Linked DNA regions of Homo sapiens: region 1 is linked to region 2. Evidence: promoter capture Hi-C in 16 types of primary human blood cells and fetal thymus (Javierre and others, 2016). All regions are on one chromosome and are shown on one strand. Each heading gives the region's core, a stretch centred on a gene start or on the middle of the fragment in contact. The rest is flanking DNA. Distances are from core to core; before and after follow the strand shown. Region 1 has its middle 54 kb from the start of WDR36. Region 2 holds the start of EPB41L4A (erythrocyte membrane protein band 4.1 like 4A).

Region 1 (3,107 bases), core at 416-2,915, 1.3 Mb before region 2:
AATCCCCTTTTCTCTGCATCTTCACCAGCATTAGTGACTGTACCAAATAACAATACAGTGCATATTACAAGATCGCTAGAAGATTTTTGAACATTGCCACCACAAAGAAATGATAAATATTTGAGGTGGTTAATATGATAATTACCCCAATTTAATCTTTATACTATGCATATATGCATTAAAATATCAGGTTGTACTACATAAACATACAGTTATTATGTGTCAATTATAAATTTAAAAATTAAAACATTCATTGGATGGATTTAACAGTAGACACAATATAGAAAATAGTTTGAACTAAATAGTAATAGAAATATGATATATCATTATGTGTGGGATGCAACTAAGAAGATATTTAGGAGGTAGAAATAGACTTGGTGATAGTTGAGAGGTGGATAATAAAGTCAACTCCTGGGTTTCTATTTGTAGTACTGGATGGATGATTGTGTGATTGTTATTCACCACGATAAGAAATTGTGTGTGTGTGTGTGTGTGTGTAAGAGAGAAAGAGAGAGGTGTGCACATGCAAATGCAAGGAGGTAATTGAGGATGAAGTGAGGGTAGTTGAGTTTGAAGTGACTTGGTGGTTTCTAAATAGATGTTCCCACTCCCCAGATTGCACTTTTCCTACTTCTGCACTAGACATCAAGACTTGAATTCTTTCTCTTATGGGGAACCTCTTCTGACCACTAACCTTACCCCAGGATGGGTTAAGTGTTCCTATTCGGTGTACTCAAAACATCCTACACATAAGTCTCATAGTAATTTTATATTTTTTATTAAGTTATGTTGTTATAAAACTATTTGTTTATTTATCTCTTACCTTAGAGGTCCTTGGAAAGCAGAAATGCTGTTTCTAGCACAGAGTAAGTGCTCAGTTATAGTTTGTTGAGTAGCACTGGACTGTGAAAATCAAATTGAGGTATTTCCAGACATACTTAGGGCACTCAAAATTTTCACATCTCCTGCTTCTAAGTAAATACTAAACTTGAGAGTTATAGAGTAGAGTTGTTTAGGTGAAAAAAAATACTGAGACAGTATCACAAGATCACAAAATTTTTGCTCCCAAAGAAGCTTACAGTTAGAGTTTCCCAATTATAGTAAAAAGAGAGACAGAGAGAGATATTAATAAGGGATTTATATTGTAGCCTAAATTCTAAACTGCCTACACTTTGAACTTACAGTTGGAAAGGTATGACATCAGACGACCTTGGAGTCAGAGACACTTGGCTTCTAAGCAAAGCTCTGTCACCTGCCAGCTAGGCAGCTTTTGCTTATCTGAGTCTCAGTTTTCTCCTCAGTAAAGAGGAGATGAAACTAATCTTGCCCCACAGGGTTTTTATGAGCAGTGACTCTCTTCTTTTCTCAACTCTGAGAGGTCCAACCCTCCTGGGCAGGGCAGCAATCTGAGAAATAGGTTAGTATATGAAACCGATGCCTGGCCAAGTCACAGAGGTCCCTCTGAGTGAGCCTTTGTCTTTTTCCAGAAAGAACCAATAGAAAATTAGGTTTGCAATGCACACAGAGTCGTCAGACATTCAAGACTGATTGTATTTCTCACAATTATAATTCTCTCTCTTTTTGTTCCTTCTGATTTCACCCAGGTTCCTATCCGATGTCTTCCTGGTAGTGATCAGTACCATGCGATGTCCCAGTTAGCTCTGTACATCCACTTCTTCATATGCCATTCATTGTACTGTGTAGGATGGTCTGGTATCTCAAGTCTTTCTTGATAACTGTACTCTCCTTCCTTGGTGATATCCTTACCTATTCTTGGTATTCTTCCCACTGCAGGCCAACTATATTTCACATCTGTGACACACAAAAAACCAGAGATTGTCTTTCCATTTTGCTCTTGTGGACATCAGTTCTTGTCAACATCAGTTGATCTATGTTATCAGTCCTTGACTTTTGGGGGTTTTTCTCTGTTTATTTGTTTTGTGTAAGACTTTATCCTCAGATTAACTGCTTATTTCTAAAAATACTGTTTAGTTTAAACTCAGTAAGATGCATTTTTACCTAATTTAACTCATGACTTTTCTTCCCAACAATGAAAATTAGACATAGAAAGTGTGAAAACCATAAAACATGAGGTCTGATTCAAGGTAAAGACTTCATACCTGAAAGGTTTTGATGGGAACATACTTTAGTAAATGCTGTTCATTGCTTTATGCTTCCTTAGATATGTACAGTGTATGTTAAAGGTGCAACTGCTGACAAGTGATTTAGTCAGGCTTCTCCTCAAGGCCTCTTCTCGAAGCTTCTAAATTTTGATATATTAGAGACCATCCTCCTGTAGGGTCAGAGAAACAAGAAGGAGAGGTCGGCATTACCAGAATGCAGAAGCCTGGAGAAGAGGCCTTGAGGAGCAGGCACCCCCGTTAGACACAGTGGACCTCTAAAACAAGCGTCCTGTCCAAATGCAAGTGATGGCCCATGGATCTGGTATTTAGAACCCTAAGAAGAGTTGTGCTGCCTGGCTGATATTTGTGCCCGAGAAACTTGGAGGAGGTGCACCATGGAGAAAGAATCCAGATCTCTGAGGAGGTGGCATTGGTAAACTGGTCTTGATACCTCCGAGTGGATGCTATGAGGCTATGAGGTTCTAGTAGTCTAGAATAACTGTGAACTGGAATAAACCATTGCTTCTGGAATAAATTGCTCTTTCTGGATCAGTGCAGTGTTGTTGGGGGCCTGCTGACAGGAACAGGAAGGAAAGAAGAAAGAGAATGTCTCTTCCTGCTCCAGCCTTGCAGTCAGCCTTCAACAATCTCTTATCAGTGGAGTCCGACAGGACATTCCAGAGAACCCCCTGATTTCCTGTCTTCCCTAGCCCTAGGAAAATAGCAGCTATACTTTTCCCCTTGGTAATCAGAAGAAATCAACCAGATAATAGAATAACGTATTTGTCTCCTTTTGCCTGTTGAATCCATGGCACAAGGAGCCTGAAAGATAAGTAGAGTCTCAATTTCCAAGTCAAAGGAATCTTTGATTTTTCCCTGGTAGAAGCATTCCTCCCTTAGTGACCAAGATGTCCAAACTCAAAGAGCTCAAAGTTGAGAAGAAGGGAAACAAGAATTTTGAGAGAGGGTGATTAAATGTAATAG
Region 2 (3,317 bases), core at 351-2,850:
AAATACCGAATGAGAATCGAACTGAATTTTGCTCAGTATAATTACTGGGGAAACAATATTCAAAACAACCTCCTAAAGGAAAGGGTTAACAATCTTGTAGCTTTAACTGATTATTTTTGCTCCTTTCTCCCGCAAAAGAATTACACCTATGAAACTGGAATTCTGTACACTAAGAATGGCAACATTAACGCTGAAACTTTTAGCCAGGAATAGTTATCCTAGTGTGCATAAAACTATGTAAAAACTGATTCACAAAAGGAAATGCCCAGGGCCTACCCCATTATGATTAACTTCTGAGATGAAGCGACTAAGAGAGGATACTTGGCAGCCTGAACTCGATTTCTCAGAAAGCCAGCTCTATCAGAGCGGGGGCGGGGGGGCGGTTTCCCTTCACCAGACTCAGCTGTTGCCTTATCTAAAATGCCTTAGCGATCTAAAACTGAAAGAGAAAGATAAACAAAACAACAAAACGCTCCGGATTTAGATCTCCTTTAGGTAGTTAACACTGTTGCAAAAGCAAAACAAGCACGCAGGCGCGTCGGTCAGGTTGTCACTACAAACATACGTACCTTCTCATCCAATGTAAGGAAGAGGATCTCTGCGAGCTCTGCTGCCTTTTTGTTTGGGCTCTCTAGGTTAATGTAGTGATTGCATTTTAATGACCCACAAACAGGAGCAAAGTTATTACTGGGTCGCTTTGAGAGATGTTTACTTAAATGTGAGGATAAACCCAGGTCGCTGTAGAAAGGGAAAATATTTTCCGTCCAAACGTAGCATTACCCAACTACGAACCCACGCAAAACAATCACAATGACCCATTAATGCGTTTCAACGAGTGAACTAGTTCACTTCCCTAATAACACTGTCAAGGAAAACGCCTTCAACAAAGTCGAGGGAAACCATGCCTTCCACACTGGTGGGACGCAGCTGGTATAACCCATTCTGCCCCTCTTTGAGAGCTGCGGGGCACCCAGAGGCTTTTGGAGAAAACCGGTTTGGGGAAGAGTTTTGGGGTGCTGCTGGGAGCCGGTGTGCTGAGTAAACTTAGAAACGTCAAACTCAACTTTGCTTTATGAAGGAACTCAAAGTTAACTCACCCTGGTACGTCCACCCTCTCCCTGCGCGCAGGGGACAGCGGCCTCTCCTCCCCACCGCGCAGAGTCGCGGCCGCCGCCCTCGACCCACCGGTGACAGCCCTCAAAGCGATGGACCCCCGCACCCGCCCTGCCGCCAACCCCCGGAACGCGCTCCGGGCCGCACCCACCTTGATGCCCTGCTGCTGGGTGGTAAGGGTTAACTTGGATTCATCCAGGAGCAAAACTTCGCAGTAAAATTCTTCCGGAACAGCGCAGAAACAGCCCATGTCGGTTGTGGTCGTCTCCAGCCAGGAGAGAAAGCTACCACCGAGGCGCCCAGCCGCCCCCTCCACTCAAGCGCGATGCATTAATTTATTGTCCGCGCCGTGGCGAGGGTGAGACGAGCAGCTCCCGGCGGGGTCCGGGGACCGGCCGCCGAACCGCCCGGCGGGGCGGGAGCGAGAAAGGCGGAAAAGCCCGGGAGAGTCAGCGCCCGGGAGCCGCCGGGGAAGCGCCGGCGGAACTGGGCGCGGAGGGCGGTGGCGCGTCCCCGCGCATCCTGCGGCTCGAGCTCCTCCGAAGGCGGGGGCGCGGGGCCCCTCCCGCAGTCCTGGGGACGACAAAAGTCTCCTGGCACTGGGGGCAAGAGACCAGAAAAAGGAGTGATGGGAATTCGAGGCTCTCCCCGGCCTTGGAAAACCCTGGAAGCGCTGCACCTCCCTCCTGCCGCACGGATTTGAGCGCGGCCCCGACGTCCTGGCGTCCGATCGGCCTGCGGAGTCCCCCGCGGGCGCGCACTTCCAGCCGCGACCCCGCCCCGCAGCCCCGGGTCAGATCCGCCGAGTATGAAGCGCTCGGCTTTTCTTTTGTGTGAGGAGCACCCACGACGCCCCGACCATGGGCGCAGGGGCAGAGGCGAAGGTCGTCGCTCCGTCCGCTACCCCGTCCCCCAGCCGCAAGCGCCGAGGAGCCGGAAGAGAGGCGGAAAGGGCAGCAGGCTCCTTACCCAGACCAGCGAGGGGAGGTCAGCTCGTCGCGGGGTGTGGCTCCCGTCCGGGGACTCCCGAGCTCATTACGGGTGGCCGTGTGTAGCCAAGTTCAAGCTCTCCCTCCGGGAATGCCTGCCGCGGCGGCGGAATACGGCTTCTTCAGGACATTCAGCAAAGCGGGGAGGCGGGGACCTGCGGGCGGAGGAGCGACGCCCCAGCTGGGAACGCGGCGGACGGGCGAGCGGGGGGTGCGCCCTGGGCGCGCCAGGCCGCAGAGGCTCCGGGGAAAGTTCTCTTGGCCGCGCGAGTGGTGGCGCCCCGGGCGGGAGCAGCCCAGGTGCATGTGGGCCCGGTCCAGGCGTCTGCAAAAAGCCCTGGAACGAAGCGGACCCCCCAGTCCAGCGCTGGCCGCGGCAGGGGAGCCCCTTCTGGGCGGGGTATCAGCTGGGGGCGGAGGGCGGGGCAGAGACCGTGGTCCCAGCGGCGAGGTGCCGGCGAGTCCACGCTGCCAAGCCGCACACTGCGCCCAAGCCGCGGGGCAGTCCAGCGCTCGCTGCGTCCTTCCCCCGAGAGACCTGGAGGCTGGGTGGGGAGAAGAGGACGCGGTGCTGCTCGGACCCCACGGTTCGGCGGTCCCAATCCCACGCCCTCCGCGCGGTCGGCCGCGTCCAGGACTGAGGGGCACAATAGCTCTGAAGCTGCAGTGACCCCTGGTGGGTCCCGATGTCCGTGCACAGGCAGCCGAGGTTGAGCTGCGGACGACACTGAGCCCCGCTGGGCTTCGGAGCAGGTGCAATCTGTGCTCTCCAGCTGGGAACCAGCAGCGAGTTAATGCGAGTCGCAGTTAGGGGAGACACGAGGGGAGGTGTCACAGAAAAAAAACTCTATATTGAGTTTTAGAGTTAGAGCTTTGGCATCAGACGTAGTTTTGAGTTGACTATTCTACTGCTTGTTAGCTGGGTAGCCAAAGCTCAAAAAAAATTGCTTAAAACCTAGGACGTTAGCCCTTAAAACAAAACCAGGCTTCCGTAGCACAGTAGAAATGAAATGAACAATTGGCGACTTTTGATGGAGTTTCCTCTCATAGTGATTTGCCACAAAGGACCTTCTGTAGGAAGCCTCGGCCTTCCCTGCTATTGTGACCCCATCCAAACACAGGATCAGCATAACCGCCAAAGTGCAATATAAATTTCTGAACTTTACCTAGGCTATGAATAAAACTATTTTATCTTCTGAATTTTCTGTGAAATTG

The links. Contacts are between HindIII fragments. The CHiCAGO score rates a contact against its expected background, and 5 or more counts as called.
Region 1: a fragment that was not itself captured here is called in contact with the fragment with the promoter of EPB41L4A in region 2 in 1 of 17 cell types (M1 macrophages); the score reaches 6.2 in M1 macrophages.

Annotation. Positions count from the first base shown.
Region 1 is chr5:111,144,929-111,148,035 of GRCh38, forward strand. No RefSeq gene overlaps it. Among named protein-coding and RNA genes, the nearest start is that of WDR36, 54 kb to the left of the region's middle. The HindIII fragment of the contact is 1,186 bases long and covers 1,073-2,258 here.
Region 2 is chr5:112,417,677-112,420,993 of GRCh38, forward strand. EPB41L4A (erythrocyte membrane protein band 4.1 like 4A) reads right to left here and starts at 1,601. Exons shown (of 23, transcript NM_022140.5): 1 at 1,265-1,601. The coding sequence starts at 1,363. EPB41L4A-DT (EPB41L4A divergent transcript) reads left to right here and starts at 1,907. Exons shown (of 1, transcript NR_027706.1): 1 at 1,907-3,302. RefSeq lists a silencer at 2,266-2,355. The HindIII fragment of the contact is 9,034 bases long and covers 1-3,317 here.